Regions from separate parts of the Homo sapiens genome. Here regions 1, 2, 3, 4 and 5 are each linked to region 6. The links are contacts of gene promoters, found by promoter capture Hi-C in blood cells and fetal thymus (Javierre and others, 2016). All regions are on one chromosome and are shown on one strand. The core of a region is centred on a gene start or on the middle of the fragment in contact, and the rest is flanking DNA. Distances in the headings are between cores, read along the strand shown.

The links. Contacts are between HindIII fragments. The CHiCAGO score rates a contact against its expected background, and 5 or more counts as called.
Region 1: a contact is called between a fragment that was not itself captured here and the fragment with the promoter of CCNH in region 6, in 2 of 17 cell types (naive B cells and total B cells). The highest score is 7.3, in naive B cells.
Region 2: a fragment that was not itself captured here is called in contact with the fragment with the promoter of CCNH in region 6 in 1 of 17 cell types (M1 macrophages); the score reaches 6.4 in M1 macrophages.
Region 3: a contact is called between a fragment that was not itself captured here and the fragment with the promoter of CCNH in region 6, in 7 of 17 cell types (neutrophils, total B cells, non-activated CD4 T cells and 4 more). The highest score is 12.5, in neutrophils.
Region 4: a contact is called between a fragment that was not itself captured here and the fragment with the promoter of CCNH in region 6, in 1 of 17 cell types (naive B cells). The highest score is 5.7, in naive B cells.
Region 5: a contact is called between a fragment that was not itself captured here and the fragment with the promoter of CCNH in region 6, in 1 of 17 cell types (M0 macrophages). The highest score is 6.4, in M0 macrophages.

What each region holds. Positions count from the first base shown.
Region 1 is chr5:90,543,552-90,547,493 of GRCh38, reverse strand. No RefSeq gene overlaps it. Among named protein-coding and RNA genes, the nearest start is that of ADGRV1, 13 kb to the left of the region's middle. The HindIII fragment of the contact is 845 bases long and covers 1,916-2,760 here.
Region 2 is chr5:83,911,296-83,915,827 of GRCh38, reverse strand. No RefSeq gene overlaps it. Among named protein-coding and RNA genes, the nearest start is that of HAPLN1, 190 kb to the right of the region's middle. The HindIII fragment of the contact is 1,053 bases long and covers 1,699-2,751 here.
Region 3 is chr5:90,523,215-90,527,558 of GRCh38, reverse strand. LYSMD3 (LysM domain containing 3) reads left to right here. Exons shown (of 3, transcript NM_198273.2): 2 at 2,259-2,524. The coding sequence starts at 2,270. Among named protein-coding and RNA genes, the nearest start is that of LYSMD3, 4.2 kb to the left of the region's middle. RefSeq lists an enhancer at 2,792-3,293. The HindIII fragment of the contact is 1,833 bases long and covers 1,298-3,130 here.
Region 4 is chr5:90,480,280-90,484,682 of GRCh38, reverse strand. The region is part of intron 1 of POLR3G (RNA polymerase III subunit G); the gene reads right to left. Among named protein-coding and RNA genes, the nearest start is that of POLR3G, 7.6 kb to the right of the region's middle. The HindIII fragment of the contact is 4,983 bases long and covers 606-4,403 here.
Region 5 is chr5:83,747,866-83,751,780 of GRCh38, reverse strand. No RefSeq gene overlaps it. Among named protein-coding and RNA genes, the nearest start is that of HAPLN1, 29 kb to the right of the region's middle. The HindIII fragment of the contact is 1,315 bases long and covers 1,971-3,285 here.
Region 6 is chr5:87,410,433-87,414,366 of GRCh38, reverse strand. It overlaps CCNH (cyclin H), which reads left to right and starts at 1,437. Exons shown (of 9, transcript NM_001239.4): 1 at 1,437-1,689; 2 at 3,021-3,143. The coding sequence starts at 1,573. LOC105379066 (a long non-coding RNA gene) reads right to left here and starts at 1,385. Exons shown (of 3, transcript XR_948543.1): 1 at 1,306-1,385. RefSeq lists enhancers at 1,481-1,650, 1,681-1,810. The HindIII fragment of the contact is 6,680 bases long and covers 1-2,676 here.

The DNA.
Region 1 (3,942 bases), core at 1,089-3,588, 3.1 Mb before region 6:
AGTGAAAGAGGGCAAGTTTCTCTTCAATATTCCTCTTTCAGATCCCTTCCCATGGGTGGGGAGTCTCTCACTAAACATCCAGTCCTACATGGATATGCACAGGATGCTGCAATCCAATTATCCTAAGTGGGGCGAGTCTACACCAGATAACCTGATGAAGTCATCTGTGTTGGGATATAGGAAAAGTTCTCCCAGAGCCCCCAAGCTCAACCAAGGACTTCTTCAGTCTGAAGTAATGTTTGTTTTACCAGTGGCTGCAAGCAAACAAAGACACTACAAACAAAGCTCCCACTGTCTATTCCCTCATGGGTGGGAAAACCAAGCCCAGTGAGAAAAGAGGGTTGACTTATGGTGTGTCTGGAGATTGTGCAAGGTCTTGCAAAGTTTACATCTTATGTGTGGATGCCTGGTCCACTTGACACAAACATCTCTGCCAACAGTTTTAGACTTGAAGTTAGGAGTGCTCTACCTTTCAAATCATATTGAAATGCATATACATATTCTACAAAGATTTAATACTTTGTGACTTGTAAATGTCAGGTCATATCAGAAAACTTACACTGAAATTGTCTCACTTTTCAGAAAACAAAAATTCTTTTCAAGTTTTCTTTTTTTTTTTTTTGTAGGGTTCTGAAAAAAGGTTGAGATTGTGTTTCAAAGAGTACCATGAAGAAACACACAGTTTTAGCATTGCATTAGAGCAATCTCACATGGAATATTCCCAAACAAAACGGAGTTCTCTAATACTCCTTAGTTCTTTCCTTTTCTGTCTTTCTTTTCTTTTCTTCCAAAAGCAAGGAAGTGAATTGTGAATATTTCTTACAAGAAATGCTGAGCTAGTTAATTTCTGATAATTATAAAAGCATGGGTGGCCACTAGTTCAAAGAAAATCTTTCCCAGATAAAACCAATTATGAGCAGAGACTTTAACTGTGTCCCTTTATCCACTGCCAAAATGCAGTATCAATAGGACAGAATGTGAAAGCGGCAGCTTTCATATGAAAGGTACTGAAAGTATTCATCTTTTGGTAGTAGTTCTGCCACCACATGGAATTGAATAAAAGGAAAGAGAATTATGCGCATCAAGTTGAATTATGCAACTGGAGAGCAAGAAAGGCAAATCATAACCAGATGTGTATATGCCTTTTTTTTTATTCTTAAATTTTAATTGATATCACCACACAGCCAACGCACTCTACTGGCATTATGAAGTAATTAAAAATAATACAAAAGAAAAATTGACTAACATATATTATCATTTAAGTAGAAAAGTATTTACAGCAGAGAAATACTATCAGAAATGTCTTTAAAACATCAGTATTAGGCTGAACCACATGCAATTGATATTTTCTTATGTTAAAATGTTCAATATTACCAGAATTGTTGAATAAGAGCAATTTCATATGGTTCAACCTAATATATAATTTTCTTCCTATTTTAAAACGGCAGCCTATTTTGTTCTTTGTCATCATCACTCAATGGAACAAAATACATTGACTTAATTTTATTTTATTTATTTAAGTTATTTAGCTTTTTTAGCCACCTCATATGGAATTCCATAAACACATGAATCAATTAATGTTTCTTTTTTCTACCTTTAAGAATTTTTTTAAAGTTGCATATACAAAAATATCTCATTACTCAGTCTGAGTCTATTCTCAGCTGTCATGGGGCACTTTAAGAGAAACGTTTATCTATTTGTGATGATGGTAAAAGGAGGATGCTCTTCCCCATTTGAAGAAGTGGATCAGCTCTGCTTTTATACCCTTCTACAAAATGCTGACGTAAGCAAAGTGACAGCCTTTCTCCCTTTGGTACCTTGAGGGGCCCAGAAGTAGGCATTTTTGGCTTATTGAGGGGATTGGAAGATCTTAGAGGGAGGACTAGGAGCTGTGGGAGTGGGGTTGATTGAAGCTTTACACTAATGGAACTAGAGGGCAAGAGCAAAGCCTATCTGTGGATGATCATCCCAGCTCTGATCAGAAACACCTCTAGGTGTTTAGAGAGAAAATTTAGTGCTAGAAATGAAGGTAAAGTTCAAAGATTAGAAGTTGGCTTATTTTAGGAACAGTGTTGAAAGGAAAGAAGAAGAAAGGGTGAAGAAGAGGAGCAGAATGGGACTGAGTTGAAAGAGAAAAAGAACTTGGCCACTGAGTGCTGCCTGTACAAGTGAGTTTAAAAATATAGCACTAGGGATGGGAGATGGAGAGCAGACAGTCGTCATCCATACTCCAGAGCTTAGCAGCTAGAGGAGAATCAATATCCAAACAAATGTTTAGCTATGCTCAGGACAACTGCAGTTGGCTCCCACTATAGGGGCAGAATTTCAGTGGCATTACTGAAAAAAATTCACATTCCCAGTGATAATCTACTACACTCAACAATTGGAAGTGTTCTATTTGCAGTTCACATAAAAGCAACACAGCACAAAACTCTGGACAATTTCTCAAGAGAAGAACTTTAATAACTCTTCCTAAATTAGAGTCAAAGGTCAGAGACAGTCTGGCAGTTACCAAGAAAACAGTTCTTTCCCAGAGTTCAGTATAAAACTAACCCAGTGTAGAAATACTAGAAAGCGGTTCAATATTTCAGTAGCCAATTTATCGTATTAACTAAATTCTGTTCCTTCTGACCACTTTCTCACCTTGCATTGTTATTCGTTCCTTTCTGTTCCAAGATGAAACCTTGAGTAGATCCCATTTGTCACATTCATTTTCAATTAACAAGTAGCCTTATTTCTCAGATAGCACAAAGCAAAGCTTAACCTCTCATTAAGCTTTGAGAGTTAGATCGTTGCCTGACCTAGGTTATAAAGCCTACAGTGGAAAAAGAGGGCATGCTTATCCTTTTTTTCAATTCCTCCCAACTGTACTACTTATCCCCTTTTGCTATGTTCTTTTATGGCTCTTCCAGGATTGGAAAGCAGGGAAAGGCATAAGGGATGTAAAAAAATGTTATTTCTTAATGAGTTCTTTGGCGCTGTCATCTGTGGGGACCCCAACATGGGCTAGGTCTTCCTGGGCAACCCATTTACAATTAACCCCCCAGTCTCTAACTTCTGGCAGTCCATCACAGATGCTTTCCACAGGGGTTCATTCATCCCTTCTGATGGGTCTTGTGAATGAGGTGCCTTAAGAAATTTAGACACATTTGTCCTATCCACAGCTGGCCCTCAGAACACCACACCTATCTCCTACAATTATTCTGCCTCCAGGGCAGGGTCAAACTCACTGTTGGACTTTCTCAAGATGAGTCAAGTAACAGTCACTCTGTCCCTCAAACTCCACATCAAATTCTCCAAGTGATCCTCTGATTGTCTGCCATTTTTACCTAGGGGTGGCAGAGGTAGATTGCACAGCACAATGACAACTCTAAGAGGATTCTTACTAAAGGCTTAAAGATCAATATTCTGGCCTCCACTTATATACCCTGGAGGTAGGTGATGAGCTAAGAATCACAGAGTCAGTTGTCTCTTTCTTCACAATGTAATTATTAGCTAATCTTGCAGAATCTGGAACAACTGTCTGAGTTCAGGACACTGTTCTGGGACCTCAGACAAGATACTTAATTTCTCAGTGTCCTTTTGTATAAAGTACTGAAATCTATAATAAATAAAAGCAATAGCTACAGTATAAATTTGTTTTAAAAATTAAATGCATAAAGTACATAGAACAGTGCTCGGTGTCCAATCATGAGGAAAACTGACATTATGTGCCTTCTGATATGATGCACAGAGAAGTATCCAACATCACCAATGTAGGGTTCTTGCCAAAAACCATTTAATCTCAATCTAATCATGAGGAAACAATGAATCAAATCTAAATTGAAGTGTAGTCTACGAAACAACTACAGCCTATATTTTTTAAAAATACCATCATCATGTCAGACCAAAAAATTGAGATGGGGAAAGAGAAGCTGGAAAACACTTCTGGATTAAAAGAAA
Region 2 (4,532 bases), core at 976-3,475, 3.5 Mb after region 6:
TGATTAAAGTTTCCCACTGAGCAGTACAAGCTCAGTTTGAATCTCTAGTAAAAATTATTTTCCTTTCTTTTGTTTTTCCTTTACTTTCACAAACATTAAGGAATGTTTTAGGCTTTGCTAGTTGATTATTCAAAACCTACATTTGCCAACTGGTGTTTTTGTAACTTCAGGCTTAAGTGAAAATGAGACAAGAAATCTCAGTTGGATATTCCTATGTTGTTATTATATTTTTAACATAAATTATTGTTACTGAAGTTATGCACAAAGCCTAAACCATTAATTTTTAGTATTATAAAGTTGCTTTTAATGTTAGTTACCTTGTAAAATAATGTAATATGTCTATTTACCTAAAAAGTCTCCTTTTCTACAGCTGACATCAACTATTTAATTACATAATAAAACCCATTACCCCTGTGAAATGTTTTACCTCCAAAGAGATTGTACACGCTCTTAGACTATTTTTTTGGGGGTGGGGTCAGCAAAGACTGGCAGGAAGTCTTTTCCATACAATCAGAATTTTTTTTTTTTTTTGAGACTAGGTCTCACACTGTGACCTAGGTTGGAATGTAGTGGTATGATTACATCTCATTTCAGCCTCCACCACCTGGGCTCAAGCCCAATCTTCCCACCACAGTTTCCTAAGGAGCTGGGGCCACAGGCGTGCATCACCACTCCCAGCTAATTTAAAAATTTTTTTTTTCTTTTAGAGGTATTTTAGAGATAGGGTCTCACTATGTTGCCCATGCCAGTCTTGAGCTCCTGGGCTCAAACAATCCACCTGCCTCAGTCTCCCCAAATGTTGGGATTACAGGTGTGAGCCACCAAGCCAAGCCAATCAGAAAATATTTAATGAGCACTAATTACATGATAAGCAATGGGGTTTTTATAAAGAAAAAAATGTGATTAATGTCCTCAAGTGATCAACAGCTGGATGCAGGACTGCTTACATAATTTGCAGGCCCATTGCGAAATGAAAATTCAGGGCCCATTGTTCAAAAATTATGAAGAATTTCAGACACAACTGCAGAGCGTTAAACCAAGTGTGGGGTTCTTCTGAACAAGGAGTCCTGGGTAACTGCACAGGGTCACATGCCCTTGAAGCCCACCTTGGCTCAATGACTAAATAGCAACAAGGAGGAGATTTTCTAAGGGGATATCACCAAATAGGTATCAGAAAGATGACCTTTAAATCTCTGCCAAAGACAAAAGGAAATTTAAGATTCTAGGAAATCTGTGCAAGAAAAATGAAACAAATGCACATAATAAGATAAATATCAAAGCCAAAGATCTGTAATGAAATAGGAGCTATCTTAAGACAGCTGAAAGACAACCTTGCAAATACAGGTCTTCTGACGTTAAGTACCAAATAAACAATTTGTGGGGAAAAGCAGTAATAGATCAGAAAGAGGAAGGAACATTCTTGGCTGGAGTGGGCAGGAAATGCTTTCTGGAGTGAGTGAGACCTGGCCTTGCTCTTGACGGAGAAGTTAGATTTAGCAAAGCTCACGTTGATTTGACACATAACATGGCTTTTGTAATTGGCAATGATTTTTGTTTCCTAAATTAAAACACTTTATAAAATCCTTAAAATATTTGAAAAAGTCATAAGTCCATACGTCTCCAAGATAGAAATTTTAAAATATTAAACTATATGAAGTAAATATGAAGCAAAATTTTATCACGAGTTGCAGTGAAGCTTCTAATTATATAAACACTTCATAAAAAATAAGTGCATTATACCTAGAGGCTTAGCTTGAGCCAATAGATGCTTATAGAATTTTTCAGATCAAATTTACCAGTTCTTCTCTTTAGATATATAAAATACAAAATACAGATATCATTTGCTTTTTTCCCAGTATGTTCACCACTGTTTAATATTTATCAAGTAGAATTAGCATTGCATTCCATCTCCTGTCCTTTGAGTATACATTCTCCTAGATTTGTATATTTTTTTAAGTGAGAATCCTACCGAAACAAAACATCTGAAAATATCTAATGAAACTTTTCTTTTTCCAGCCAGCAATGCTAACACTCTCTGTAGGTGGTGCTGAATGCTTAAATAGTGGTGTGCCTTAAATGTTTAAAAATGGGCTTCAGGATGGTGTGTAGGAAATGGGGCAGAGTCCTAATTTTAGCATTTGCTGATATTTATGTTGTAAAAACTTCCACCAAAGAGTATAAGAGAAATCTCTCTTCTATCTTTGTAACTTGTCAGTACCTATAAAACCACTCTATTGTAAGATTTTAATTAAAAAATAAAATAAAAACCTCTTATGGCCAATTTCAAGCTATCAACTTGACATCACAGAGCATAGAGGTAAGATGGGCACAGATGAGCAAAATCAGCTCTTGGAATAGAGGAAAGAACTTAAATGATGAAGCAGGCCCAGAAGTATGTAAAAGGCATTGGTCCCAACACACTGCTAGGATGGATGCAGTAAGAGGAGACTGTAAACACTGGAGCCAAGGTAAGGTGCAGAGCCTGCAACTTATAGGGACATGGTGTAAAGGTTATCCCTGTCACTGTTGGTTCATTGGGATTCACAACTACAGAGTTTTCAGTTTTTCCTTAGAAGGACTTGGAGAATTCATCATGGAATTCTTCACCAGTCATCTCATCCAGAGCTTCCCCAGCTTCTCTAAAGTAAGAATCAGCCAAAGCATTTGCTAACAACAACAATAACAACAACAACAACAAAATTATTGGACCTCCAATCCAGAAATGCTGAATCAGTTTCCAGGGAAGAAGCTTGGAAACCCCAGAAAATTCTCATCACTAGGAAAGGTTGGAAAACACTGACCAGCTCAACCTCCTGGCAACAAAGGAATCTCCCTTACACCATGCACAACATGTAACCAGCCATGAGTTCTACGTTGGCCAAAAACCTGCCAGTGAAGATGGTCAGCAGCATATAACTGTGGACATACCTGGGTGAAATCCTTCCTTCACTGTTTGCCAGCCATGTGACTTTGAAAAATTCACTGAGCCTGTCTGAGTTTGGTTCCCCTTATCTGCAAAATGGAGGTAATAATTGCAACTTCATGGCATTGTTTTGCTGAGCAAACAAGATGCCATATGTAATGCACCTAGCACAGGGCTGGCACCAAAGCACCCAGCATATACCAGCTAATGCAATTTAGACAATGATTCTCAACCTTGCTGGCATGTACACATCACCTAAGAGGTTTTTAAAATCCCAAGGTCCTGGCTACATGCTAGCCCAAGTAAGTTAGAATCTCTGAGGATGAGATCCAGGCATCAATATTTTAAACTTCCCCAGGTTATTCCATGTGCAGCTAATATTAAGGAAAATTGAATAAGCAGCAAACAAATTTGAAAGGCTGCCCAACTCAGCAGCTGAAAAGCCATAATGATTACCTTGTATTTCCTTTGAAAGAGGCACAACTAAAACAATCATCATTGGTATCATCAAAGAGTATATTTTAAGCACCCACTGAGTGCAAGATAATAAAGTCCCTTTTCTGGAAGATCTTTGAAACACCAGGAAGCCTACTACACGGATATCCTCTTTGCTTAAGCTTCATGGGTATACCTTTTTCTTGTTTATAGTTTCAAGTTGTTAGATGACTTCTTGTCACATTTGTGTTGTCGATGGTGAGTTGCCAGCAGAGCGTCATCTCAGGAGAAATCACTGAATACAGCTTTGCTTGATGCAGGTAGCTAAAGGAAAGAGGGAAACATTCTGAATAATTAGAAGGAAAAAGGCAAGAACGGGATTCCCTAAGGAAAGAGCTCCTGTCAGAGCCAATGGAAGCAGATGCTCCAACAAAACGAGGCTCAAGAGGACAAAGCAGGAACCTTTTCCTGTGTGACAAGGAAAGGGTCAAGAGGACCAATTTCATTTAGAATAATTAACACCCAATAATTGATCAAAGGTATTATTACAATTTCACCTGTCCCTAAATCCTGAGAAGCTTAAGACATGGCCTGTGATTAATCAGCATGACAATCATAATTATGGATAAATGGAAATTAAGACGTTTTATTTCTGTCAGTTTTATTGAAATCTTGTCCCTGCTTTGCCTATGTGATGCCAACTCAATCCTCTGTAAACAGGGAACTGAAAGCTTGTTTCATTTTTCAAATCCCTTTACACCATCAGAGTCTGAATCAAAAGGCAACCTGCCATTATGTTTAAGTTACAGTGATAATAATTACAGTAGTCTAGAATTCCCCACCAACTATTTTATCTTAAGAAACACAGGTTTATACTCTTGCTGTCTGCCTAGCTGTCAATCCATATACAGGAGACACTAAAAGGATAAATTAACTTGGTGACTCCTTCAAAATGGTATTGATTCAAAGATATATCGGTTGACAACCTACCCTCAGAGAAGAAAGGACCAGCTGCCATTCACAGAGTAAATAAATACTTTCTAGGTTGGGCACTGATGTTTCCTGAGACCTCTAAGAACCCAGCTTCTGACAATGCTGTTACCACATTTAAGTGTCCTATAATTATGAAATTATTATTTTAGTTTTGTTTTGTTTCATGAATTTTACTTGTTTT
Region 3 (4,344 bases), core at 965-3,464, 3.1 Mb before region 6:
TCACTATCTCAGCCACCCTTGTGGAAAATTTGTGGTTGTTTGGCATCACCGTCATTCCTAACTCTGAATTTGTATGCTACTAATAAGCAGTCATTTTCTTACACTTTTTCACACATAAGTGCTTAACAGTAAAAAAAAAAAAAAAAATACCATTAATACAGTGAAAAAATAATGTGTTCAGGGTACCTAAGCACATCACCAGAATACCTGTACAGGTTTAGCATTCCTAATCTGAAATCTGAAACGTCAGTTGTGGAATTTTCCATTTGTGGCTTCATGTCAGCACTCAAAGTATTTCAAATTTCAGAGTATTTAAGATTGGATTTTTGGGTTAGGGATTCTCAACCTTTGTAATTTATTGTCATCCATTTTATATACTCAGAGTTTTGGAGTTGGTCTTTTCTGTTTTTTGTTTGTTTGTTTTTGTTTCGCTTGGTACTCATCCATAGTATTCAAAAAATAGTGAGTCTTTGAGATGTTATTTTGCTTTGGCTTCCATGACATAACACTTCCATGGTTTCTCCCTCTTCTGGACACTCCTTATCCATATTTTCAGGCTGATTTCCTTTCACCAAGATACTGAATTTTGGACTTCTTCAAGGCTCAGTCTTGGACCCTCTTCTTTTTCTATACTCTCTAGGTAATATATGTACTCACAAATTCATTTTCATCTATGTGCAAATTAGTCATGAAATTTTATTTCTAACCTAGACCTTTTCTCTGAGTTTGACTATATAGCCCATTTGTCTATTTGCCATTCCTTTTTACTATCTTAGAGGAATTCATAATCATAGCCATGCACCTCCTCCCCCAGCTCCTCTTCCATATCTCAGAGAATGGCACCACAATGTATTATGCAAATCAGAAATCTTGGTGTGATGCTTAATTTACTCCCTCTCTTCATGTCTGAACCACCTTGAGTGCAAAGAATTTTATCTCCAAAGTGCTTCTTACTACTTCCCTCCATCTTTCCCAACAAGAACTGAAAGCAGTCTGCCCCTTCTTATGTGAATAATTAACACGAAGCCAAAACTGTGAATGTGGAATTAGTTTTTTAGGTTCTTGTGTTCCTAATTAAAGAGAGTAGATAGATCAACTTGATGATGGTGAGTTGAGAGTTAGTATGCAAGTAAACAAAAAGTATTCATTGATGCCTGTTTTTAACTTAGGTCAGCTCCCAGTCAGTCTTACAATGGTTTTTCTAAAGTATAAATGAACACAGTAACCTAAAATCTGTTCACAGTCTTTATGGACCATAAGTTGAATTTGATGAGGACTCTAAGTTGGCTAAAAAGCTTCCAGGGAAGAAAAATTCCTGCTTCCAGGGAAGCAAAATCATAACCTATATTGCAGGCATATCTGCACTAAATATAAATACCAAAGTCCAGGAGGAAGTAATACGAAAGATACTCCAATCCTGAATGAAGTTGAAATGCAGAACAAGCTGGAAAGTTTTGAATTCATGAAAGTATTATGTGTATATAAAACATGCTTTGATTCCATCAGAGCTATAAGTTATATAGTCACAAGTTTTTAAGACATAACACAATTATTTCTCTGATTTTCTTCACATACTCAGAATAAGGGGAATTTACGATTTTATATTTAATGTAATATTTTATAGTATTTAATTTTATAAGTTATATTTTTACCAAAAGAATTATAGCAATTTGCCTTTGTTAATATGTAATTACTCCACGTGTTTAGTGATATATGATCTAATAGAGGAGATTACCTCTTCTTCCCTTACCTTTGTCTCCACTGCCAAATACGTTTGTTCTACTTTAACAGTTGTAAAACCTGAACCTAGGCCAGGCGCAGTGGCTCACACCTGTAATCGTAGCACTTTGGGAGGCTGAAGTGGGCAGATCACCTGAGGTCAAGAGTTCGAGACCAGCCTGGCCAACATGGTGAAACCCTGTCTCTACTAAAAATACAAAAATTAGCTGGGCGTAGTGGTGGGCGCCTGTAATCCCAGCTACTCGGGAGACTGAAACAGGAGAATCACTTAAACCTGGGAGGCAAAGGTTGCAGTGAGCTGAGATCGCACTACTGCACTCCAGCCTGGGTGACAGAGTGAGACTCCATCTCAAAACAAAACAAAACAAAACAAAAAAACGAACTTAAACCTAAATGTTTAAATAACTAAAACCATTAAAACAAAAACAAAAGATTGTGTCCTGAATGTACGATGCATGCAAATCAGTCAGTTGGATCAGCTACATTCCAAAATTTTCTCTGCTTTTTTTTTCCTCCAGATTTTAACATTATGGCAGGGAGGCATCAGAATCGTAGTTTTCCTCTTCCAGGAGTTCAGTCAAGTGGTCAAGTACATGCATTTGGAAATTGTTCAGACAGTGATATTTTGGAGGAGGATGCTGAAGTGTATGAACTTCGATCCAGAGGAAAAGAGAAAGTCCGAAGAAGTACATCAAGAGATAGACTTGACGACATTATAGTATTAACAAAAGATATACAAGAAGGAGATACATTAAATGCAATAGCCCTTCAGTACTGTTGTACGGTAAGTTTTAATATTACATAATGCAATTCAGAAGAAATTATTTGTTTACGCACACTGAAATAAATTCTGTGTCCTTTTTTACCTTGTTTATTCCTTTCTCCATTTTTTGCTCTTATTTTTTGCATAGAAATCTGTGTCACATGGGCTGGGCGCGGTGGCTCACGCCTGTAATCCCAGCACTTTGGGAGGCCGAGGCGGGTGGATCACGAGGTCAGGAGCTTGAGACCATCCTAGCTAACACAGTGAAACCCCGTCTCTACTAAAAATACAAAAAAATTAGCCGGGCGTGTTGGCAGGCGCCTGTAGTCCCAGCTACTCTGGAGGCTGAGGCAGGAGAATGGCATGAACCTGGGAGGCGGAGCTTGCAGGAGCCGAGATCGCGCCACTGCACTCCAGCCTGGGCGACCGAGCGAGACTCCGTCTCCAAAAAAGGAAAGAAAAAAGAAATCTGTGTCACATTTGTAGATGTTTACTTTTTAAATATTTAACAAATACTTGAATTTCTGTGTATTTCCAAATCCACGAATTTCAGTATTGAAAAACACTCAACTATGTTATCTTCTTATTCAAATGGTAAGAAAATGTGGAAATGTGTAAGGAAAAGCTTTTCCCTGCCCCAATTTCTTGAGATAACCAGCATTAACACTTTGGCATGTAGGAATGCTTTACCTTTTTTTGTGCTCATAAGTATTTATTTATATATACATATTTGGGGAGTTAGTAATCTTTGTATTTTTAAAAGTGGATTATATTATGCATTTTACTCTGCAACTTGCATTTTTCATTCTTTAGTGTATCATGGACACCCTCATGACCATCCCTCAAAGCCTTATTAACTCATTATTTTAAATGGTTGTATAATGTCTGTAGTATTAACGTTCCAGTATTTTTAAGCCATTGCCCTATTAATTGATACTCAGGATTTTCTTGGTGTTTTACCTTGTGTGGCAAATATCATCACAACTATATCTTTAAATGGCACTGCCTTTACTTCTGTGGGATAGATCCTAAAAGTGGGATTGCCAGATAAGAGGAAAGGTGTATTTTTAATTTTAATAGATACTATACTCTATTTGGACCCATTTTCTCTCTGTGTCATTATGTCCATCTTGAGGCCTTAGCAGGATATTTTTATATCCACATTGATATGGAAACTGGTTAGAACATTTGTTTTCAAACTTTTTGTTCTCATACTCCCAATAGAATTTTGAAATATATGTACTATGTACCTCATTGCACATTTTTAAGTGAACTTCCTAAATTCTTCCTCATGACTTAACATAGTTACAAATGGTATAATTTTCAGAATGTTGTATTAACATTTAAAAATAAGACTGTTAGAGTGCTCTTTAAATGCATCCACAGAATTCTAAGTACCACCAGGATTTGCTACCTGAAATTTGTATTTTTAAAAAAAGTGGAAAGTGTGTGTATGAGAGCTCTTTTTTCAATAGCATGAGATTTTATATCATTCCTTTTTCTCATTAATATTTTCATCTTCCCCCCAAATTTTTCATGATGTAAAGTATTTTTATACTTGAAAAACCTTTTATTGATTACCTGTAATACTTCTCTGCAATAGGAACACACATGTCTATAAGTTTATATTATATAAATGTATTTATATTCTAAAAAAATTATGGTCATGAGGTTTTCTTCTACATTTGCAACTATTGCAATAATTCACATTTCTTATTACAATTCACAATTCATCAAAACATTTCAAATTTTGATATTAAAATTTAATAAAATATTTTATTAAAATGAATTTTTTGATGTGGTGTAAGAGCTGGGTAGTTTTTTCCTCCTACCTTGCTCAT
Region 4 (4,403 bases), core at 1,848-4,347, 3.1 Mb before region 6:
ATTGGTTTTGGCCCCATCAGCTCAGTCTCATTTCTGAATCTACTCACTTGCCCTCCTTGCAAAATTATGCAAGCCACAGTACTTCACACAGCTGCTCTACTCTTCACCAGGGTTTCTTGCCTGGTCATTAATGTTACCCTTCTTAGTCTACCACATTAATGGTGAAGGAACACTACGTAAAACCAACAAGGTGCTACGTCTTTATATCAATTTTACTGTCTACAATTTGAATATAGGCACTATTTTGGACCAAAAGGCTGAAAACTCCCAGCTCACTTTATCACAGGGCCAACACTACAAAGCAAGCGGCTCTCAGTTCTCAACCCTGGCTGCCATTAGAATGACTTGGGTGGCTTAAGAAACTAGAGCAATGGTTCTCAAAGAGTGCTGTCTGCAGCAGCATCACTCAGAACTTGGTAGAAATGCAAACTGTGAGTTCCACCACAGACCTAAAGAAAAAAGAAACTGTGAGTGGGCCCAGCACTGGTGTTTTAAGAAGCCTTCCAGATAATTCTATGTATGCTAAGTTCTGTGAATCACTGAACTGAACCAATCAATCCAGATCTCTTGGGGTGAGGATTGGGCAAGAGTCAGTTTTAGAAGCTTCCCAGGTGATTCTAATACACAGCAAATGTTAAGAGTATTGGTAGAACTGTTTTGGTGGAAGTCTTAGCTACTAAGGAGTAGTTGAGTTAAAATACACATGTAGAATCAAGGACTTCATAGATCTCATCTTTGAGGTTTAAAATTATAAAATTAGCCTTAGCAACTTAAAAATATTTGCCTTAAAGGTAAGATAACTATAATTGCTGTAAATCTATGTAACACTCAGGATGTGGCAGTCCAAGTTTTAATTCATTTGCAAGGAATAGCAGTAACAAGGCATTGCACTTTTAGACAGCCAATTTAATTTTTTAAATATTTTATTTATTTATTTTTTTCACTGCAACCTCCCTCCCTCACTTAAGCAATTCTCCTGTCTCAGCCTCCTAAGTAGCTGGGATTATAGGCGCGCACCACCATGCCCGGCTTATTTTTTTAGTAGAGACGGGGTTTCACCATGTTGGCCAGGTTGGTCTCAAACTCCTGACCTCAAGTGATCTGCCTGCCTCGGCCTTCCAAAGTGCTAGGATTATAGGCATGAGCCACCGTGCCCGGCCAATGGCACCCTGCCAATGATGGCCAATTTTAATGTCCTTCTACATTTAAGGCCCCAGAAGCAAATCATATATTCAACATCTTTATGTAATGAAACATCGTTTCCTGTTTTCTGTGAATTACTCAAGTAGAATGCACGGCATTTGATTTGACATAATGGCTATGATACTGAGAACATTTTCAGATATGATTTTGTAACTGCCCAAGGCGTTCACCCTGCCTGCTGTCTGGACAGAGCTGATTTATCAAGACAGGGGAATTGCAATACAGAAAGAGTAATTCACACAGAGCTGGCTGTGCGGGAGACCGGAGTTTTATTATTCCTTAAATCAGTTTCCCCGAAAACTCGGAGATCAGAGATTTTTTTTTTTTTTTTTTTTTGAGACGGAGGAGTTTCGGTCTTGTTGCCCAGGCTGGAGTGCAATGGCATGGTCTCCGCTGACTGCAACCTCCGCCTCCCGGGTTCAAGCAATTCTCCTGCCTCAGCCTCCCGAGTAGTTGAGATTACAGGCGTGCGCCACCATGCCTGTCTAATTTTGTATTTTTAGTAGAGACGGGGTTTCTCCATGTTGGTCAGGCTGGTCTTGAACTCCCAACTTCAGGTGATCCACCCGCCTTGGCCTCCCAAAGTTCTGGGATTATAGTTGTGAGCCACTGCGCCCAGCCAGAGATCAGAGATTTTAAAGTTAATTTGGTGGGTAGGGGGCCAGTGAACTGGAAGCGCAGATAGGTTGGCTCGGGGATGAAATCATAGGAAGTCAAAGCTGTTCTCTTCTGCTGAGTCAGTTCCTGGGTGGGGGCCACAAGATCAGAAGAGTCAGTTAATCGATCTGGGTAGTGCCCCCTGATCCATCAAGTGCAGGGTCTGCAAAATATCTCAAGCACTGATCTTTGGAGTGGTTTAGGGAGGGTCAGAATCTTGTAGCCTCCAGCTGCATGACTCCGAAACTATAATTTCTAATCTTGTGAATAATTTCTTAGTCCGACAATGGCAGTCTAGTCCCCAGGCAAGGAGGAGGTTTGTTTTGGGAAAGTCTGTTATCGTCTTTGTTTCAAACCATAAACTAATTTCCTCCCAAAGTTAGTTCAGCCTATGCCCAGGAATGAACAAGGACAGCTTAAAGGTTAGAAGCAAGATGGAGTCACAGTTAGGTTAGATCTCTTTCACTGTCTCAGTCATAATTTTGCAAAGGTGGTTTCACGCCCAAGAATGAACAAGGACAGTTCAGAGGTTAGAAGCAAGATGGGATCAATTAGGTCTGATATCTTTCACTGTCATAATTTTCTCAGTTATGACTTTTGCAAAGTTGGTTTCAATCCCTCCCTTTGGGTTTCATAGTTTTACATTATTCATTTCGTAAATTTATCCCTGCAGGCCTCCATATTTGAGTTTTCCTTCATAACTGCTTGAACACTAAAAGTTGATTTGTCATCTTTAATGTTGTCGTTTTAAACTACAAGTCTATGCCTTTTTTGGTTTACTAATACTTACATTTACTATACTTACATGCACAAAAGTCAGTATATTAAATCTCCATATACCCACTACTCAGCTTCAAAATTATCCGTATATGACTATTGTACTTTAACTATACTTTTCTACTCCCATGCTTCAGATTATTTTAAACTCTTCAGTATGTATCCTCTCTCAGAGTTAAGGGCTTTTAAAAAAATCACAATAACATTGCATCTACAATTTTAACAATAACTCTATACCATCATCTTATATAGAACTAACATTCACATTTCTTAGTTATCACATAAATGTTTTTACAGTTAATTTGTTCAAATCAAGATATAAAAAATACATGACATTTAACTTTCTTTTAAACTGTAATGGTTTTCCCATTTTTTTTTCTTTCTATTTGTCTAAGAAACTAGGTCAGTGCCCTATACAATGCTTCTTAAACTTTAGGTACAAGAGAATTACCTAGGAATCTTGTTAAAAGGCAGATTTTGAATCAGTTGGCTGCAGACAGAAACTGAGAATCTGAATTTTTATCAAGGTCTCAGGAGACATCAACTGGTTTGTAAACCATACTTTGAAAGTAGCAAAGCTATATAATTTCCCATATTCTGGATTTGACTGATTTATACCTGAGATGTGATTTAACATATTCCTGTATTCTCTGGGTGTATTTCCAATAAACAGGTAAACTAGAGGTTTAGATTTGGGTTTGATTTTTTTTTTTTTTTCAAGAATACTGAAAAGGGATGCTCTCTCTTTCCTTCTCTATTACATCAAGATGAACATAAAGTCTCCCTCTTGGTATTGATCAGGCTGGTCATGGGTTCAGGTGTTGGTCTATTTCATTAAGTATAAAGTGTCCATCAGTTTTCACCTAATGATTTTAGCAGTCACTGATGATCACAATCTAGATCAATTTTTCCATTATGAATTGCAAAATGGTGGTATACAAATTTTATCTTTCTTTCTGTTTTATTAATTGGAATTCCACCAGGGATCAATTTCTCTTATCTATTATTTAGTTACCTTGAAATAAAGTTCATACAGGAACTATATTTATTTTAATAGCCCAGCTTATTACATCTCTCTACATTAAAAAAGCAGGAAAATATCCAAATGGACTTGTTTCAATTGCTGAGTCACTAAAACATATGCTGAGCCTAGAGAAAGCGTATCTCCCAAGTATCAAAACTGCTGAGCAGAAGGGGTCACACCTTTCACTCTAAGAAACAACTGCAAGAGCCCACTAGGCCTACTCAAAACCACTGGGCTGCACTCCAGTCCAGGATTTGCCACTACTTAAAGATTAAAAACAATTCCAGGTAAAGTTTACCAGACTTTCCTCATCATGAAAATTAACTGGAGGACCTGCTAAACATAGAGTCCTAGGCTTTCTTCAAGCCCTCAAACCTACCATACCAGAATCTTTGGAGGTGGGCCCTGGAAAAGTTTGGAAAACTCACCCTAAAAAAAGAGGACACCAGCTAGCACTGCTTCATGGAACAGCTCTTGAAAAATAACAAACTCTATTGACTCTAAATTTCCATTTTTATCAAGCAATCTTTGGGTGTATGAATTGCTATCATTAGCGAAGGTACCACCCTTGCCAGAAAAACTTCCTAGCTTTTGACACATTTAATAATTATGTGGCATTCCAGCCTACAAACCCATCTCTTTAAGTTAGTTTTCATGAATCCATTACCCTGTACACAGAGGAGCTGATAAATTCATTTTCTTCTCCTGCAGAGCTCAGAGAGAGTCCCTGGATCCTGGTAAA
Region 5 (3,915 bases), core at 1,379-3,878, 3.7 Mb after region 6:
TTTCACCGAAGTAAGAAATGCCTTGATTCATTGATTATCCCCTGGTTTGGGCTAGAGGATAAAAAATAGTTTGCATAGTACCAATGAGAGAGCAGAAATAAAGGGAAGACAAATTCAGGAAATAATAAATGCTTAGAAACAAAACTCCGTATCACTTGCAATTCAAGGAAAAGTGAATGAAACAGCTTGGCTAAAGCTAAGCATGACTGAAAATCTGTAGGGAAGACAGGGGGTCTATTATGGAAGAAACTGAAAGCTAAGTAGAGTAGTAGACTTTAACAAATATGAATAATCATGGCTGATTTCTAAGTTAGATTTTGAAAATATTTAAATGGTATAAAATACATCAGAAGTATAAAAGAGGAAGTGAAGAAACAACCTTTCCAAACAGCCTACTATAGTCCGGGCACAGTGCTCAGTAATTTCTCATTTAATATTTATAACAACTCCATGAGGCATATATGACAATTTTCATTTTACAGATGAGGAAATTAGAGCTCAGAGATGTTATTAAAAAATAACATACCTGCTCCAAGTAGGGAAGAACAGACACTATTAAGGGACTGTTTAGGAGGCAGGCTTTTAGAATGATAGAGTAAGGAGATCCAAAAATTCACTTCTCCATAAAAGTAATTAAAACATTGACAAAATTGTCAAAATCAACTTTGTCAGAACCCTGGAAATGAACTAAAGGCTTGTAAGAATTTAAGGAGTGTTTACTCAAGGTAAATGCCTAAATTTTGGTAAGGACAGCAAGCTTCTGTGGTGTTTTAGCTTCCCCTATTTCCATTCCTTACTTCCCAATTCTACAAGAGTCATGAAAATCAGCAGCATTATAACCATGGCAACTGTGAAAACCATCAGCCTAGCAGCAACTTGAGGAAGCAGACTAGATTTGGATCTCCTTAAAAAGCACTATCCTTTGAAAATTGCTTCTAGTTTCTCTGTCTGCCAGCTCTCTGGAAAATCTCCATTCGCAGGGCTTTTCATTATTTGACTTGACTCAAAACTCCTTCAGTAGGAAAATCCCTATTCATAGAATCTTTGTCAAAAATAATTAGCCACAATTGCTAGCAGTGCAACTGCCTTAAGTAGTGATACCAGTTGAAGAAAAGAAGAGGCAGACCAAAAAAAACTTAAAAAGAGTATCTGGGTAATTAAATGTCCATAAGGGTCTTGGAAGACCTCCAACATATTTCTGGGAATCTAGAAGGCCATGTTTATGTACAGGGATTGATACATATCGAGGAAAAACACAGGTTCACCCCTGGCTGAACCTGAGATCCTGAACAAAAAGGAAATGAAGACTAAGGCAGAGTTGTAAACTGCCAAGGCACAGATAGCCCCTCAGCAGACTGGAAACTTATTGGATAAAGGCAATTAAGGAAATAACTGTGTAATCATTAGCTGATCATTAAGCTAACTTATCAATGACTTCGGTGGCTTATGATAGAGAATAGAGAGTAAGTCCAAGAAGGACATTCAACAAAAAAATAAGAACAACAACGATAAGAAACAGCAACAATGATCCAGCAAACGACCAATGACAGCAACAATAATCGTGTATGGTGATTTAGTTTCCAAAGATATCAAAGTATATTATTTAAAATATTTATTTTCCAACAAAAATTACAGGACACACAAAGAAACAGGAAAGTTTGGGTGTGGTAGTACAGTTCTGTAGTCTCAGCTACGTGACAGGCTGAAGCAGCAGGATTGTTTGAACTCAGGAGTTGAAGGCTGCAGAGAGCCATGATCATGCCACTACACTCTGGCCTGGGTGGCAAAGTGAGACCCTGTCAAAAAAAGAAAGAAGGAAGGAAGGAAGGAAAGGAAGGAAGGAAGGAAGGAAGGAAAGGAAGGAAGGAAAGGAAGGAAGAAAGAGGAAAGTATGCCTATAAATAGAGAAAAAGCCATCAATAGAAACTATCCATAACAAAGCATAGATGTTAGACTTATTAGACAAAGCTTTTAAATCAGCTATTATAAAAATGCATAAAATCTAAAGGAAGCCATATCTAAGGAATTGAAAAAAAAAGAACTGTAAACAATGTATCACCAAACAGAGAATATCAATAAAGAGATAGTAATTATTAAAAAGAACCAAAGATAAATTCTAGAGTTGAATAATACAACAACTAAAATAAAAAAATCATTCAAGGGACTTAACATTAGATTTGAGTTGGCAGAAGGAAGAATCAATGAACTGAAGATACGTCAATTGAGATTATTCAGTCAGAGGAACAGAAAAAGACATGAAGAAAAATTAGTAGAGCCTCAGAGAACTGTGAAACATCATCTACCATAACCACATTTTAAGAATGGGAGTTCAAAAGAAAAAAAGAGAGAGAGAAAGGAGCAAAAGGAATATTTGAAGAAATAATGGCCAAATATTTTATGGTCATATGTTAGATTATAAAACAAATTTGATGAGAAACATTAATCAAAATGTCCAGGAAGTTCAGCAAACTCTAGTAGGATAAACTCAAAAATGGCCATGATAATAGTCAAACTATCAAAAAACCAAAGATAAGAGAATATTTAGAGCAACTAGAGGAAAATTAATTGTCACCTACTAGGGATCTAAAATAAGTTTAACAACTGAATTCTCATCAGGAACCACGGAGATGAGAAGTAAGTAAGATGACATAGTCAAAGGGCTGAAAGAAAAAAAAGGTCAGCCAACAATCCCATATCCCTTAAAACTGACAGGGAAATTAAGATGTCCCTAGACAAACCAGATCTGAGAGAACTGTCACCAACATTCATGTCATGTAAGAAATAATATGCTGGGTGCAGTGGCTCACGCCTGTAATCCCAAAACTTTGTGAGGCTGAGGCAGGTGGATCACTTGAGGTCAGGAGTTTGAGACCATCCTGGCCAACATTGTGAAACCCCAACTCTACTAAAAATACAAAAAATTAGTTGGGCGTGGTGGCAGACACCTGTAATCCCAGCTACTTGGGAGGCTGAGGCAGCAGTGGAAGTTGCAATGAGCCAAAATCATGCCACTGCACTCCAGCCTGAGCAACAAGAGAGAGACTCTGTCTCAAAACAAAAAAGAAAGAAAGAAAGAAATAATAAAGGGAGTCATTCAGGTAACAATGACAGGATACCAGATGGAAATTCAAATCCACATTAAAAAAATAAAAAGATTAAGTAAAGGTAACTACATAAGTAAATATAAAGATAATATGAATGTATTTTTGTTTTTAACTCTCTCCTCCTATATGAGTTAAAAGATAACTGAATAAAGCAATAATCATAAAGCTATGTTGATAAGCTTATAATTCATAAAGATGCAATTCGTATAACAGTAATAGCAAAAAGGATTGGAGAGAGTGAATCTATTTTGGAGCAAAGTTTTTTTATACTATCCAAATTAATTTGATAGCGATCTAAACTAGACTGTTTTAAGTAAAGGTGTTAATTTGTAACTGTCTAGGCAAACATTAAGGAAATAACTAAAATGACATAAAGACTCAGCAAGGAAAAGAAAATGGTACACTAGAAAACATCTATTTAAAACAAAGGAAGGAAGAAATAAAAGGGTAGAGAAACAAAACTAAGACACATAGAATGCAAATAACAAAATGACCAGCATAAATCCTACTTTATCAGTAATTAAATAGGTTAAACACCCCAATCAAAAGGTAGAGATTAGAAGAGTAGATAAATGGCCTACCTATATGGAATACCTACAGAAACACACTTTATATTTAAATATACAAATAGATTGAAGTGAATTGATGTAAAAAATATATGTACCATGCAAACAGTAACTAAAAGAGAACTGGTGTGGCTATGCCAATATCAGACAAAATAGATTTTAAAACAAAATTTGTTACTAGAGAACAGGAGGGACATTTTATAATGTCAAAGAGTCAGTTGATAAGAAACACATAACAATTATAA
Region 6 (3,934 bases), core at 188-2,687:
TTGTCAAATATCTTTCAGAAAAACAAAATGAAAAGAATTTATATGATATATATAACAGTCATGAGGCTAAGACTTTATATAGACATTTAATTATCTAGATCACTTATTTTCCTATCTTTTGTACCATTATGTTTTTCTCTTTTAAATTATTCTTTCCCCAACATGCAACATTTTAGGTTGTTCACAATTCATTGTAATCAATTTGCCATGCCCTTTGATCTTCTCTTTTTCTCTCTTTTCTTAGCCAATTTATGAGACCAGGTTAGCCACATATGTTGAGTGTGTGGCTCTCCAAAATTATATACCACAAATGGCATAAGTTTGAGGAATTCAGATAACTGTGGCAAACTCTAACCTCAGCTGTACCCAACAAAAATGAAAAAGAAAAGGCTTTCCCTTTCTTAAGCCCCTAAAAACATTTTAATAGAAAGCAGAGTTAAAGTCATCCTGCCACTTCTTCTTTTTACCTGTGTGGGCTTTTCAAGACCTAAATTCTCTAGGTCTCATCATCTTTCTCTTTCTTTTTATTTATTTATTTATTTTTTAGAAAAGCTATTTGCCATAGGGAAATCCATTTTTCGGATTGGATATATAATAAATACATGAGAGAATAAGGTATGCCTAAATGGGACAAACCAGAATCCATGTAAATTTTGAACCTCACCTGCAATTTTGAAAGTCCTATTAATTTAAAAAATAGTAAATACCTTAATTTTCATGATAGCTTACTGTAAGGCTCCCTAGAGGCAATGAAAATGGGAATCTCAATAAAACGAATACTACCATACATCCTGGCTTCAGAGATGAAAACAGAGGGAGAGGATTGGCTAGTTATCAACAGAAGGGTAAGGAAAAAAAGCACAGAGAAAGAACAGACAAGGCAACAAAAGTGGCAGAACTGTAAGGGCCAATACGCATCCACTGCTTCAAGTTTTTCAGCCATGTTCCATTCTCCGAGATTTCTGGTAGTGCTTCAAGAATACTGGTCTCCAAACTCTTCCTGAAAAGGGCTAGGAATGCTTCTGCCTGAAGATCTTACCTATTCTTTCTGGGCCCCGTGATCTCCCTACATGATTGATCAACCTACTATTTCAACTCTTTCAAGCCTTTTCACAAATGTCAACTTCAGTGAGGCCTCTATTTAAAAATGAGCACCCTACGAAATCCTTTCCTCATTTCTGATTATCCCCTGTGAATTTACATCTGCCTACTCCGTACCCTCAGTTTATGCCCCTTGAACACTCTTGCCGGGCGCTTCTCCTTTAAATCTTGCCTGGAAGGGGCGGAGCTATGTCCCAGACTCACCGAGAGGAGCGTTCTCTAGGCTCCGCCCACTTACGTCTCAGTGGGCGCCCTAACGAACCCGGGATACGGTCTGTTCCTAGTCCGCTCCGGAAATGCAACTGCGTACGGGCTGGCCGCGTAATCGTGACGACAGCGCGCCAGCGCCGGCTAGCCGGACGCCCTAGGCTTCCGCGAGATCTTCGGTGGGGGTACGGGTGTTTTACGCCAGGACGCTGATGCGTTTGGGTTCTCGTCTGCAGACCCTCTGGACCTGGTCACGATTCCATAATGTACCACAACAGTAGTCAGAAGCGGCACTGGACCTTCTCCAGCGAGGAGCAGCTGGCAAGACTGCGGGCTGACGCCAACCGCAAATTCAGATGCAAAGCCGTGGCCAACGGGAAGGTGAGGTTTTCCCAACGGTTGCCCAGTTGCCCGGTCACTAAATTCTGAGCAGCTGCGGGAGCTCTTCTGGCTCCCAGGACAATCTCGCTCCGTCGTTTCTCTGCCTCTGCGGCGCGGAGTGCGTTTTTCTATCAAAATAAGCGAGCACCTTGCCAGGTTCCGTGGGTACAAAGACGAACAACGCCATCCCCGTCGTCGAATGGCAGACAAGTAACCAGTCTTTGTAACGTAGTGAAGAAGAGAGTAAGTAGTGTGCTAAGGTAGTGCGTGGCAAGAGCCGTTCACTTGTCAAGAGATGATGTTGGGGAAGGTTTTTCCCAGTAGCCAATGCGGAGAAAATGGGAAAGGAAGTTCCAGGCAGTCAGAACCACCGTTCAGAGTGGGAGGGAGGTCAGAAGTTACAGAGATGGTGCGTGGACGTGTTTGTGGTCGTATGTGGCCGAAGTTGAGTACCTGTGCAGGAATGGCTGGGGAGGGTAGGAAGGGAACTTGTAAGTGGAAGTGAGGCGTTTAACATTTCCACTGAAAGGATGAGGAACCTTTGAAATATTTAAAATGGGAAGCTAACCTTATCAGATTTCCGTTCTGGAAACAGCGCTCTAGCAACCTCGTGGTGAATGGGTTGGATGAGGGAGGGAGACCAGAGACCAAGTACAAACCAAGTGACTGAAGATGGTTTGGACTATGGCCCGCTAGCCAAGTTCCTTCTGTTACAGCTCTCGGACTGGTTTAATCTTTCCTGCAAGCTCCACTCCAGCAAGTGTTCAGTGCCTCCAAATTACCGATACTGAGTTACTTTACTTTCTACCTTTAATTCACATCTATTTCATATCACTGATTTTAGCACCTGAATTAGTTTCCTAAGGGCTGCCTTAAAAAAATCACCACAAACTGGGTAGCTTAAAATAACAGAAATTTATTGAAACATTTGCTGTTTTTTTACAACTTGTGACGTAATGACTGACCGAGAAACGGATGTTGGAAGCTTTCCAATCATATTTTAAAAAGTCTGTCTACTTTTTAATTTATAAATAATGATATCACAACTGTGAGCATGTGCACACAGCCTGTCATGATTGTTTATACTTTAATGAAGCAAAGGTCTAGCTGACATTCCGAAAAGTCGTGAAATGATGGTACAGTTTTAGTTTATTAAATATTTTCCTACAGCTATTTTGTGTAATGATTAGCGAATCTATAAAGAAAATGAGGCGTGATATATACCCTTCGTTGGATATATAAACTAAATTTAATCTAGATAGAGAAAAATGTTTTACAATTGTTTAATTCATTGAATTCATTGAACTTGTGTTGTAATTGTTGATCTAAAGGTTCTTCCGAATGATCCAGTCTTTCTTGAGCCTCATGAAGAAATGACACTCTGCAAATACTATGAGAAAAGGTTATTGGAATTCTGTTCGGTGTTTAAGCCAGCAATGCCAAGATCTGTTGTGGTAAGTTACAGTGGTGATGAAATATAATGTCCTTTAGTTGGCTTGTGAAATTTGACCTCTTCTAAATTCCCTGTCCACTCAAGTCTTAAAAATTCACCTTAGTTACAATTAATTAGTTTTTGGCACATTATATATTTTTCAATACAGGCCTTAAATCATGAGTTGCTGTATCATATCTTCAAAAGTATTTCAAGTCTCACTTTGTGGTCAGAAAAAAATTTGAGGTCAGGTAATGTCATAAAGAAAGAAAAAAAATAAATTACTTTCCTCTAAGTTCTCAACTAATGAGCCATAGGACTGGGACTAGAACATAGACTACTGCTTTTCCAACTCTGTGACACCCAATAAATGTTTGAAATAATGCATTCATTCATCATTGGTAATCATATGCCCCAGCTGAAACTGATACCATAAGATTTTTTTAAGCCTTGATTAGTAGAAGCTGGAGTTTTATCTTTGGTGAAAAAGATTGCCTTATTGTTTCAGATGTATGGTTCTGAGGACCTATTTGTTTTTTGCTGGGGTGGGCAACCGTGAGGAGAAACAGGTAGCTGAGATTAAAAAGCAGAAAGATAAAAAAGGTAGAGTGGGAGGGTGTTCAAAATGTTGTTACGTTATTCTCTCACTGGTTTGTTGTGAAGACCAAATATAAAAGTATATCTTAAGTAAAAGTCTGTTAAGTTTTAAAGTTATACAGCGTGACTAGCTTACGACCCAGTAGAGAATAATTTTCTAGGAAATTATCTCCATTTTTATAGTTGAAAAAAAAATTGAAGTATGTTGAAAATATT